Linked DNA regions of Homo sapiens: region 1 is linked to region 2. Evidence: promoter capture Hi-C in 16 types of primary human blood cells and fetal thymus (Javierre and others, 2016). All regions are on one chromosome and are shown on one strand. Each heading gives the region's core, a stretch centred on a gene start or on the middle of the fragment in contact. The rest is flanking DNA. Distances are from core to core; before and after follow the strand shown. Region 1 holds the start of AGXT (alanine--glyoxylate aminotransferase). Region 2 holds the start of SNED1-AS1 (SNED1 antisense RNA 1).

Region 1 (6,246 bases), core at 285-2,784, 200 kb after region 2:
CCCCAAGCAGAGAGTGAGCTCCCGGGAGTCAGGGCTGCACCTGGCCCAGGGCTGGCACAAAGAGTGTACCTGGTCCAGGGCTGGCACACCACAGGTGTGATGGATGACAGACTGAAGGATGAGGGGTGAGTGAGGCAGCAGCCTTGACCTCTGTTGGAGCTGGGGACTCCAGGAATCAGGCCCTCACCCCCTCCCTGTCTCTGCCCTATCCTGTGTGCTGTTCAGGGCCAGGTTGTGGGAGGGGAAGAACCTGCGGCCAAGGGGACAGAATGGGGAAAAGGGAAGCCATATACCACAGGCATCTGAGCCTGCGTGCCCTGATGTCCACTTGGGGTCCTGGCCTCTGCCGACCCTGGGTCCCCTTGAAAAGTTTGTGGACTTGGGGTTGGGACCCTCTTGGCTGTTGCGGTCGCGTATTAACCAGCATGGCCATTGTGGAGCTCACCAAGCTGATGTCCCTCAATGCCACAATCAATCATTAAACCCAGGGCACACTCCTGCTCCTGTGTCTCTCCCAGAAAAGTGTACTCCGGAGGCGAATACTCTGCCCATACCTCCATATTTTGTGTATCACATCAAGATTCCAGAAGGAAGGCTGCTGAGATTTGAGGGGAGGCTTCAGCTTCTGAAACCCCACCCTGTCACAAAGCAGAGCTGGTGCCTGGGGCCCTGGACAGCGGCCGGGGCTCTCAGGAGTGTGTGCTGGGACCAGAGGCTTCCCTGTAGTTCCGTCCTGCACATGCTCCAGAAACAGCTCAAGGAGACTGGGGGGATCGGGGCACCTGTGCTGCTCCCAGCCCTATCAGAGTCAGGCCTCATGAGTGCCCGACACCGCCTGGAGGAGGCAGTGGGCTGGCAGGAGGTTCGTGCGCACAGGGCCACAAGGTGGGTAAGCGCTCACCCAGGAACGGGGGCTGCCAGCTTCAAACAGAGGGAGGCCAGGGAGGCCTTGAAGGATGGATCCAGGGCCATCCCCACCTGGGCCTCTCCCTTACCTATGCGCTCCCCGATGTCCACGGCTCGCTGCCCCCAAATGCCATTGGCCCCAACCAGGAAGGAGTCCCCAGGCTCCAGCACATTGACCAGGGCGGCCTCCAGGGCACAGTGTCCCGAGCCAGAGATGACCAGTGTGAGTGGGTTCCTGGTCTGGAACACGTACTGGATGCCTTCCTTGATCTCGTCCATGATCTGCATGCGGGTGGTATAGGGTGAGACCCAGGCTCCCCGCCTCCCCAAGTGAGGAGGCAGTGACCCCCTTCCCTCGTCCACGATCTGTGGGTGGGAACATGGGTGAGACCCAGGCCCCCCGAGTGACCCCCACTCCTACCTGGTACATATCCTTGCTCATGGACCCGATCATCTGCAGCCCCCCGGCTGCCATGATGCGAGGAGGCAGGTTGGAAGGACCAGGCCCCAGCAGGAGCTGGTTGGGGATGGAGAGGGGCTTGAGCAGGGCCTTGGGGGGGGTCACCAGCAGCTTGTGAGAGGCCATGGTCCGCACCCAACCTGCCGCTCGGGAACCTGGGGCTGCACTGGCCTTGGCCAAAGCCTGGAATATTTCCCAGCAGGGCGGACACAGAGGTGAGAGGTGAGGATTGGTGGATGGGCTTCCGTGGCAGCCCTGCCTTTTGTTCCCTGAGGCTTATCTGTGCTTGTGCTGCGGGTCACGGCCAGGCAGCAGGGGACGAAGCCCTCAGGCAGAGGGAGCCCCCAGGGCTGAGTGACAGAAAAACAGAGTGTGACAAAGCTGTCCTCACCCCAGCCCTCCTCGCTCCCACTCTGAGTCCTGCACGTCCAGCCCCTCTTATTCTGCTTAGCTCAGGGGTGAGAGAAGTGTTTCTTAAAGGGTCGGAGCACAGATAATTGAGGCTTGGCAGGCCCTGTGGTCTATGTTGCAACAACTCAACCCTGCTGCGTGCTTGCAAAGCAGCTGCCAGAGGTGTGGGCGTGTTCCTATAAAACTTTATTTACAAAAAGCAGGTGGCAGGCCAGATTGGGCCCATGGACTGTGGTTTGCTGACCCTGGCGCAGCTGATGGGAAGGCTTGTAAACCAAAAATAAAATTCGAAGGCCCCCCAGCAACCATCTGAATGGGGTTCCCTGTCCGCCAGGGTGCTCTAAACTTTAACCCGGAAGACGTTCAGGCCATGCCACATCATAACCCCCAGCATTAACATCGACATAGACCTTAAGTCTGATAGGAAGCATTTACCATCTATTTTCTCTCTAAATCCCGCTACCTGAAGGCATCATCTGCTCCCTGCAACCCCTATTTCATAACCCAGACACTCCTTTCTGCTGATAATAATTCTTCAGTCAGTTGCCAATCAAAATATGTTTAAATCTACCTATGACCTGGAAGCCCCCCAATTCAAGTTGTCCCGCCCTTCCAGATGGAACCAATGTAAATCTCCCATGTATTGATTGATGCCTCATATCTCCCTAAAATGTATAAAAGCAAGCTGTGCCCCGACCACCTTGGGCCCTTGTGGTCAGGGGTGCACCCTTGAGCTTGGCAAGGATGTCCTCCCTCCTGAGGCTGTACCACGGGTGCATCCTTAGCCTTGGCAACAAAAACTTTCTAAATTAATTGAGACCTGTTTGAGGTACTTTTTGGTTTACAGGCTCAATTTAGCAAGCAAACCTGCATGGTATACAGACACACACAAGGCAGGGGTTGCACAGTGAGTTTCAGCATGCTGCATTCCAGAGATGTATAGAAATTCTAGTTATGTATAAGTTTTAGGTTGAAAAGAGGCCTGGAACCAGGTGCCAACTTTAGATAATAGGGAAGTCTAATTCATTCTACATTTCTCAAATAAAGAGGCTCCCCTCCACCCACCCCACCTGGGGCCTGCTTGATGGTCTCCAGGTGATCTTTGCTGTCCTCATTTTCCCTCTGACAAATATCTTGGTGAAATCTTTGACCCTTCCTTTTCTGCCATGCTCATGTCCACCTGCTTCCTGTTGGGGTCTCAAGAAAGGGGAAACGGCACAGTGAAGAGGGGTGTCCAGTGCGCCTGACTACTTGCTGCTGAAAGGGAGTTCAGGGGGGTAGGTCACGTTTTTCCCTTTCTTGCTCTCGGTCATGAAGGGAATAAAGGGTCATGAAAACTTGTGCACGGAGGCACGTGATGGGATTCCATCAAGAAGCCCCACGTAAATGGGAGCTGCAGTTGCAGGCCGGTATTTCCATCAAGAAGCCCCATGTAAATCGAGCTGCAGTTGCAGGCCAGTGTTGGGAATGCATAGCCTTCTGCAGGTGGAATTGTTCTCATGTAGAACATAGAAAAGCAATCAGAGCATTAAAAAGGCAGGGACCAAATATTAAAAGAAAAATGACAGAAGATAAAGGTCTAAGGAATGGGGGAAGCCAAGTGATTTTTTGAAAACCAATCAGTAAAAGTTTTGGCCCAGTCTTGGTTGCTTTGGGAAAGTGTGTGTAGCCATTTGGCTTGTTTGATGATTTCTTGGGCATCGGTTTCCACTTCTCCAGACACATAAATGTAGGTGCAACGGGTCCTGTTGATGACAGCACAGACCCCTCCTTGTTCAGCTAGGAGGTAATCCAGAACTCACCTGTTACCAGACACCAAAATCCTGCTTGTGAGTCTAATGACTTGTAGAGCTGATAGATGGGTGCCAGCTTTTGCTATTTCAAGGGAGGCGGTAGGTTCTCTTACTTGTGATTTCCTGGTAAGTAAAACCTCCCCAAGGGGTAAGAGTTGTGATAGTTCCCACAACTCCGGCCACAGTAAGTCCCAGGGCCCTTTTCCTTCTAGAAGGGAATTCTGAATTAGAAGTGATGTTTAAGACAGTGATTTGGGTGGGAGCTATTGTTCCCAGGCTACAATCACCATAGTGAAGAGAATGATCAAGGTGGGATAGGGCCAAAGCTTGAAAAGGGTTTAAATAGTTTTTAGTGGGGCTGCTAAGCCATAAGAGCCCAGGAGGGGCAGGATGATTATTTTAATTAAAATGTTGGGAAAAAAGGAAATGGGCCTTTTGACAGTTTTAAGAGGACTCATATGGGGGAAAGACTATGTTTATGTACTGATGGAGGAGGTTTAAAAGCAGGCGGGTGCCAGTGCATGGCATAGGATGTAAACCAGGTGGCACGGTGGTTATTTCCTGCACTGGTTGCATCATTATAGTAACATACATGAAGGTATTAGGAGTGCAGGGGTGCTGTATACTGGGAGCCCCACTATACTGGTCCAGTTTAACGGCTTATAAATTGGCAGTGATGAGATAGAGTCAGATTTTTTTTTTTTTTTTTTTTGAGATGGAGTCTCACTCAGTTGCCCAGGCTGGAGTGAAGTGGTGTGACCTTGGCTCACTGCAACCTCTGCTCCTGGGTTCAAGCGATTCTCCTGCCTCAGCCTCCTGAGTAGCTGGGATTACAGGCACCTGCCACCACGCCCTGCTAATTTTTGTATTTTTAGTAGAGACAGGGTTTCACCATGTTGGTCAGACTGGTCTCGAACTCCTGACCTCAGGTGATCCACCCACCTCTACCTCCCAAAGTGTTAGGATTACAGGTGTGAGCCAGCGCACCTGGCCAGAGTCAGAGTTTTGATTGTAGGAGGCGAAGGCCTCAAATGAGTCAAAGTTAGCTGCATGAGTGTCATTATAACAAGGTGTACCTCCCAAAATAACATTACAAGTTAAGGAAGTTTCAGTGATATTGTAAGTGTGGATGGTGGGGGAAGTAATATGATAGCACGAAGAGGGAGGTGGTTTCCAATTTACCAGCACAGAAGGAAATGGTCGGGGTGGGAAGGAGTGGTGAGAAGAATAATGAAATCCCAACAGTACAGTTTGATTGGAGACAGGGTGTGCTTACGAAGAAGAATCTACATGGCTTGGAGTAGCAGGTTGTGGACGGCAAAGCCAGCCACACAGAGTATTTTCTCCTCTCACAATAGCATGTGAGATGCTGAAGATGATATTGTCAAACCAAGAGGATTGGGAAGTTTTTATATGAGAGATAAAGAGAAAAACATGAAAGAAAGAAAAAAGGAGTCTCATTGTTCTAATTCAAGGACTGTTACAAAAGTTGCTCCAAGTATAATTAGAAAAACCACCCTGCAAATAAAAATCTAGTGCAAGCTGAATAATTGTATGTGGGTCTTGAGAAATGGGGATTGGATAAAGAGACAGTAAATTGGCTGGGTGTGGTGGCTCATGCCTGTAATTCCAGCACTTTGGGAGGCTGAGACGGGCGGATCACCTGAGGTCAGAAGTGTGAGAACAGCCTGGCCAACATGGTGAAACCCTGTCTCTACTAAAAATACAAAAAAAAAAAAAAAAAAAAAAAAATAGCCGGGCATGGTGGTGCATGCCTGTAATCCCAGCTACTCAGGAGGTTGAGGCGGGAGAATCACTTGAACCCGGGAGATGGCGGTTGCAGTGAGCCGAGATCGCACCATTGCACTATAGCCTGGGTGACAAGAGCAAAACTCTGTCTCAAAAAAAAAAAAAAAAAAAAAGTAAGTGAATTGAGGATAATCTCAGAAAATTGGAGGACCTAAAAACGCTTCTAGAGTACATAAGGAAATGAATGACAAGGGAGGGAAAGGAAAGTGAATGATAAACACAGCAAAAGGCTTACGTGGTATCCTTTGCTTTTGAAGAGAGGTTAGTGTCACCTGGTTGTTTGCAAAACAAAAATCATAGATCTTCCAAGGGCTCAAAGTGTAAGCAGGCTGGAGTTCTGGCGGCAGTACAGACTTTATGTGGCAAAGGTGGACCCAAGGGGAGAATCCCTGCAGTTAACAGCTGTGGGAGAGGCTATGAGGACTTGAAAGGGTCCAGTCCAGAGGGCTGGAAGGGGTTTTCTGTCTGGAGGCAAAGTTTTTAAATATACCCAGTCCCCAGGTTAACAGGAGGTCTTAGTTCTGATGAGGAGGGGTCAGATTTTGGACAAAATTTATCCTGGTATTCAGTAGTGGCCTGGATAGTTTGCCCAGGGAGGCATCACATTGAGACAGATAATGAGCCTCTGGATCAAGTAATAAGTCCGTTTGTAAAAAGGGGCATCCATAAATAATTTCAAAAGGGCTAAGGTGGGTTGAAACCTTTGGGAATTACTCTAGATCTTAACAGGGCAATAGGAAGAAAAGTTATCCAAAACAGTTGAGTTTCTATAGAGAGCTTAGTGAGAAGGGTTTTCAAAGCTAGCTTGGCCCTTGGATGACTGTGGGTGGTAAGCAGCATGTAAGTGATATTTTATTTGGAGGGCCT
Region 2 (6,350 bases), core at 2,670-5,169:
GGAGAATGTGCCCGAGACCTGGGCCCCGTGTCCCCGAGCCCCCACCCCTGCCTTCACCCCAGCCCCATGCTCTGGGTGTCCCTTCTTACCTAAAGGTGAACCTGTCCACACTCCTGTCCACATCGGTGGCCTGGTCCCTGAGGGCCTCAGGGTGGCGGATGGACACACGGACCCCACTGACGGTGGCATGGCGGATCCTGTGCAGGGCCCACTGCACTGAGATGGTGCTAGCCGTCACATTGGTGACCTCGAAGCCTTCCACAGGGCGGGGTCCTAGGGGGAATGGACTGTTCAGCAGGTGCCGGCCCCTCCTTGCTCCTGGGGGAGTGCAGGGGCTCAAGATGAAACCAGGCTTGGGAGGGTGCTGGGGGCCACAGAGAGGCACTGGAGAGGGTGTCCCATCAACTGCTCAGGGAACTCGGGCTGAGTGGGATGCCCAGGCTCTGGCCTCCAGGGCTGACAGCTGCAGAACCCGCTGTGAGCATGACGGCTGCAGAGCCCGCTGTGGGCCAGCCCGTCTTACCAGAGGCAGGGGTCTTAGTCTCCATTTAGATGTGGCAGTGACATGGCAGGGGATGGGCCGGAGTCCCTCTGGACATGAGTAACCCGGACCTCCCCTTTTCTGTGCCAGTTGACTATTTTGGTCTAAGAGCACACATCCGGGCCTGGTCTGGGCAACGCTGTCTTAGGAGGACAGACATACAGAACTCCCAGCAACTGCAGGGAAGGGGCCACTTGTGAGCTCCGCTTCCCGCCCAGCCAGTCTCCTCCGAAGCTCCAGTGCCACTGCTGATGCACCAGGCAGAGCCCAGAGGGCAGCGCTCAGCTCCCGGCAACTCAGCACCCCGGTCTGTGGACAGCGGTCCCTTCCACCCACCATGGCTGGCTGGAGCCCCAACTCTGCAGCGGGCAGGGCGGGCTCTGTCTTCACTCCAGATACCTTCCGAGGGCAGATCTCACATGGGGCGGCCTTGCAGGTGCTTCTTCCTAAAACAGCCCAGGCGAGCCACCCCTACTCAGCCCCTGGCAGCTCCTGCTGACACCTGCTCAGTGCCACCCGCACATGCGCCCAGGCTCTCCACTGGCCGAGGTGTGCTCTGTGTCCTTGCTGTGTTGGGAACTCCAGCCCCTTGGTGGTCAACTCCTGCAGGACAGGCCCTTGTGGGCCTCTGGGTGGGCTCAAGCTGCCTTGAATGCCTTCTCCTGTCCCTCAATGCCCTTGGCATTGGCATCAAGCTAGGGCCCAGGTGTGGCCAGGAGGCTTTCCTCCTGTGAGAACCGCCGAGCTCCTCCCCACCTACCCGCCATGCTACCCATAGGTTTCACCAAACTCACGTGGCCGCCCCGCAGGGCCCTGCTGGATGCTTAGGCCTCCCTGAAGCCCTGGCCACCCACCCACCCATCCATCCATCACGCCACTTCGCAGCAGTCTGTGCTCTCAGCACCTTTTCCTCTTTCCTCGAGCCTCTAGCACCCCTTCCCCATTCTTGCTCCTGTGTCTGGAGGCCACAGGCATGTTGGGTGAGAGTCCCATGGCCCCATGGCCCTGCACCCCACTTGGTTCCTGCCCAGCCTGTTCCGAGATCCCCTGTGCTCTAGCTGATGCGGCCGGGCTCCGTGGAAGGCCAGCCCTCTGCTTTCTTCCGGCCCTGCCCCTGTCCGTCCACTGCCATGTTCTAGGGCTCCTTTCTCCTTCCCAGAATCCCTCCCAGCAGCACACAAGCCCGCTAAGCCCTGACGCCTTCCCTAGAGCGCTCAGCATCTTCTGCTCCCCGACACGGCAACAACCCCACAGGCTGTGCACAACCCGGGCCTCCCCTGCAATCTTGGTGGCTCAGGCTCTGAGGAGGCTCCTCCTAGGACCCCCTCTTCAGGGGTCACATCTGGTCACAGCTTTCAGTGCCAGCTCCAGGTGGAGGCTCTGGGTCTGTCATTCCATCTAGGGCCTGCCCCACGGCTCTTCCCGATTGAGCCACCGATGCCTCCCCTTAGCACACCTCAGCGCCTACATATCCCTGTGAGCAGGTGCCTCTTTCAAACTCTCCCCAGGCCTTCAGAGCACCCCAGAGTCCCAGCCCCCCCAAGCCCACCCCCGCGGCCCCTGTCTCCCACACTGGCTCCTTCTAGGGACCCTTTTGGGAAGCCCCCATTCCTCCCCAGTCCCACTTCCTAGCTCCATGCCTGGGGGTTGTGCTGCTCCCACTCTTGGCTCGATTCTATGCGCCCCAATCCCATGCCTGTATCTTGTGGACCCAAGGCCACTCCCACACAGCTCTGTCTCCAGCAGGGCGGTGCCTCCAACCCCCAGCTCAGCTGTCTGTCTTGCTGCTGCAAGAACTAGGAGGGTGGACGGCATGACAGCCGCCCTGCAGGTGCCGGGGCCAGCGCTGCCCTCGAGGGGCAGGGGCTGGGCAGGGACGGCCAGGCTCGGGGACACTCACGCGTGCGGGCCAGCAGCACGGCAGGCCTGCTGATGTCATTCTTGTTGTTACTGTTTCGCTTCACTGAGAAGACGGAGATGTTGTAGGCCCTGCCGGCCGCCAGGGCCTGGAGCTGGTGCGAGGAGCGGGTCCTGTCCACAAAGTCTGTGCGGCGGTAGGAGCCGTCGGAGGAGACGTAGGTGACCGCGTAGCCATCAAGCATCTGCCTGGCGGCTGGACCATTGGGCGGGTTCCAGGAGATAGAGACCCCACTCTCCTCCACTCTCTCCATCTTGAGGGCCGTCGGTGGGAAGAGCTCTTCAGGGTTTGGGTCAAAACAAGGGGAGGGGACTGGTCAGCCGTTAGCTATGCATGCCTGGCTCCCGTCGGCGGCTCAGCCGGGTCTGGCTCTTGGGCCTGACACAGCCATCGCTGGCAGAGTCCTTCTTTGTCCCTGGCCACGTACCTCCAGGAGGGTCACACTTTTGAATGTGTGACCGTGTTTCAAGCCCACCGGGGGATTTTATCCCCTCCCTGTTCCTCAGGGAAGGGGCCTGGGCAAGCAGCGGCCAGACGCTCTGCCCTTGGAGACCGTTGGGCCCTCTAGGGAGAGGGGACCCCCTCGTGGCTCCCTCACTGGAGGCGCCCTCGCCACCCACCTTTGGCGCAGTCCTCGCCCGTGTAGCCCACTTTGCAGGTGCAGCTGTGGGAGCCGTTGCTGGCCAGGCAATAGCCACGGCCCCCACAGGGGCTGGAGAAGCAGGGGTCACTCACTGAGGGGAGAAAAAGTGGCAGTGTATGTTGGGGCGTGGCCAGGGGTCCCTGCTCCAGCCCCGCCCTTGCTCCTGGGGCACTGGGTCCCTCCTGCGTGGGTGTGGAGGGGCGGGGGGCACAGGACAGCTACTGCCTCCCTTCGGTTCTGCCACCTCCACTGCCCTGCGGGGCCCAACCCAGCAGCTCCTCCACCCTCCACAGCGGAGTGCCACCAGCCGGACTGGCTGAGGGGAGGAGACACTGGATCAGGACAGGACAGGCCACCACCCCAGTGACAGTCCTGCTTGAGGAGGGGAGGTCAGTGGTCAGGGAAGCCTCATCAGGAGGTATCCCACTGGGGGCTGATTAGGGAGAATGTTCCAGATGGAAGGACAGCCAGGGGCCAGACCTGGGTGTGCAAGAAACTTGGCCTGTCCAAGGGCAGCAGGGCCTATGTGTGGACGTGAGGCCCCACCCCTGGGTGTGTCCTCGGGTGAAGAGGGGTGTCTGGGGGGTGAGCGCAGGAGATGGGGAGGTTTAGAAGGCACCATTGTGGGACCAAGGGAGACAGGCGGAGGGCCACTGGCCTGAGAAGGGGACTTCCAAGGCGGCGGGCAGAGGGCGGGGAGCAGGCGGGCAGAGGGCGGGGAGCAGGCGGGCAGAGGGCGGGCAGCAGGCGGGCAGAGGGCGGGGAGCAGGCGGGCAGAGGGCGGGGAGCAGGCAGGCCTGCCGCCCTACCTGTCTCGCAGTGGTAGCCGAAGAAGCTCTCTGGGCAGACGCACAGGTAGGCCCCGCCGCCGCTCTCACACCGGCCTCCATGCTGGCAGGGGCTGGAGTCGCAGGCGTCCACCTCTGGAGAACACCCAGAGAGTGGGCCCAAGCTGCAAGGGGGGAGTCTGGGGGAGGGAGGAGAGGACAGCGGGAAGAAGGGAAAGGAGGAGTCTAGGGGCGGAGGCCAGGAGAGAGGGGCAGTGGGCAGGTCCCGCCCCTCAGCCCTCCCCAGCACCCTCACCTCCACCCCTCCCTCCCAAGGTGGCCGCAGCCCTGGGGGTCCCTCTCCCCAGGTGGCCTGCCCAGCAGGGAATGTGGGGATGCCCCACCTCCTCTCTGATCTTCCAGAGGCCCAGGCTCTGCATGTGGGGCCCACTGGAGGGAGCCCCTACCTGTCTCACAGTGGACTCCAACGAAGCCTGCAGGGCACCGGCAGACATAGGCCCCTGGGAGGTTCCTGCAGGACCCTCCATTTCTGCACGGGTGAGCTCGGCACTCATCCCTCTCTGCACAGAGAAGGGGTGTCAAGGGTGTTGCTGGCTCAAGTCTGAGGCGCCCACATGCCCCCAGGATTCCGTGCATTTCCTGGGGCTTCAGTTACCCCTTTCCCAGCTGGGAGCAACTACTCAGGACATGTGCTTTTTCTTCCATCAGCCCCAAACCCACCCCTCCTCGGGAGGCGTGCCACCTCCACTGCCTGCTGGCAAAGCCCCACCTCCAGGCCATGCCTTCCTCCAGGCCACTCCGCAATGGGAGGCTCCCCAGGGCCACGACTGGGCACGGCTCCCTGGGCCTTGCCCTCCCTGGAGCCTGCGTTTCTCAGGCTTAGAGCCCTAGCGAGGTACAAGAGTGTGCAGGGCTCATGGGGCAGGCCTCCCCTCCCTCCACTGGCTGGAAGCACCGACCAGGTGTCAGAGACTGTGACCTGCCCTCTCCGACGCCCACCTTCTCTGCGCCCTGAAGCCAGGCCAGCATTTCTCAGCTGGGCTCTCAGTCTCCCCTGGGGAGGTGCAGGAAGGGATATTTGTAAAATCTTTGTCTTGGATGTCAGAGCTGGCAGGGGCCCGAGAAAGCATGCAGTGGCCACCCTGGCCATCCAGACAGAGACCTGTCCGGGGGACCCAGTGCCTCAGGCACATGGCCAGTGTGCTGCAGCTGTCACCCCAGCGGGGCCAGGGCCCCTCTTACCCAGCTCACAGTGGGCGCCCTCATAGCCTGTGCTGCAGAGGCACAGGTACCCAGCAACGCGGTCCTGACAAGAGCCCCCATGCAGGCACGGCTGAGACCGGCACTCATCGATTTCTGAGAGGAGAGAGCCCAAGAATAAAGCAATGTGGCCACGATTAAGCCAAATTAAGATGCACATAAACTAGTCCTGAGGGGCCAGACAGAATTCGATGATACATCATCAGTGGTTGGAAAGGCCAGAGACCAGGGCTGGATATCCTTGGAGTCGGGGCAGGGCAGTGGGCCTGGGGCTCAGTGCCTGGCTGTGTCTGTGAAGCAGCAGGGCGGGCTTGAAACCACCCCAGGGCTCCCAGAAGACGCTGTGGGACTTAATTCCAGTGGTTCAGGCCGACAGGACAAAGGCCTCAGGGGTTTGACAGAAAATGTCTCATGTCCCATCTTGCCATTTCAATGTATAATAGTCACCTGTGAAACCAGTCCATCTGGGACAAATCTTGGTTTTAAATGATTCACCACAGCTTTCTTTTCAAGCGGGAGTTGTGCTCCTGAATTTAAATATTTATTTTTTTAAAGTTTAATTTCATGCTTAAAAAGTAAATAAATGGTAATGACTTAGTGACATCTGGGACTAGCAGCCACCCCGGCAGCCAGAATGCTGAATGGGCTCATCCGACCGTGTACCCTTCTCTTCCCTTGCGATAAGAATCTCTGGGTTTATAATTTCCTTGTCTTTAAAAACTAGGTTTTCTGGCAGTAAAATATGTAATTAAAATTAGCTTAAAAATTTTATAAATTGCCTAAACAATAGTGAATGTTTTTGTTGTTTATGAACTTTATTCATAGTACATCATGATATATATTGTCTTCTCTCAGCATTATATGAAGAAGAGAACTCCACACTGTAGGTCACTGTGGTTCATAGATTTTCACTGCTGAATAACATTACACAGTGTGGTTATATCATACTTCACCCATTCTCACTGGCTGGGTCTTTGGGTTGGTTCTAGACTTTTTCCTTTTTTTGTTTTCTTTTTTTCTTTTTTTTTTTTTGGGGGGATGGAGTTTCGCTCGTTGCCCAGGCTGGAGTGCAGTGGCATGATCTTGGCTCACCACAACCTCCGCCTCCCGAGTAGCTGGGACTAAAGGCGCCCACCACCATGCCCGACTAATTTTTGTATTTTTAGTAGAGATGGGGTTTCACTATGTTGGCCAGGCTGG

Evidence for each region. The method cuts DNA at HindIII sites, captures the fragments that hold promoters and counts their contacts. A CHiCAGO score of 5 or more calls a contact.
Region 1: a contact is called between the fragment with the promoter of AGXT here and the fragment with the promoter of SNED1-AS1 in region 2, in 1 of 17 cell types (M2 macrophages). The highest score is 5.7, in M2 macrophages.

The regions. Positions count from the first base shown.
Region 1 is chr2:240,864,112-240,870,357 of GRCh38, reverse strand. It overlaps AGXT (alanine--glyoxylate aminotransferase), which reads right to left and starts at 1,534. Exons shown (of 11, transcript NM_000030.3): 1 at 1,328-1,534; 2 at 996-1,188. The coding sequence starts at 1,492. RefSeq lists an enhancer at 1,515-2,015. The HindIII fragment of the contact is 16,005 bases long and covers 1-3,898 here.
Region 2 is chr2:241,061,687-241,068,036 of GRCh38, reverse strand. SNED1-AS1 (SNED1 antisense RNA 1) reads left to right here and starts at 3,919. Exons shown (of 3, transcript NR_187212.1): 1 at 3,919-3,957. It overlaps SNED1 (sushi, nidogen and EGF like domains 1), which reads right to left. Exons shown (of 32, transcript NM_001080437.3): 17 at 5,133-5,246; 18 at 4,337-4,450; 19 at 3,912-4,025; 20 at 3,080-3,193; 21 at 2,442-2,738; 22 at 90-273. It also overlaps a transcript of MTERF4 not described here. RefSeq lists a silencer at 3,811-3,970. The HindIII fragment of the contact is 14,458 bases long and covers 1-6,350 here.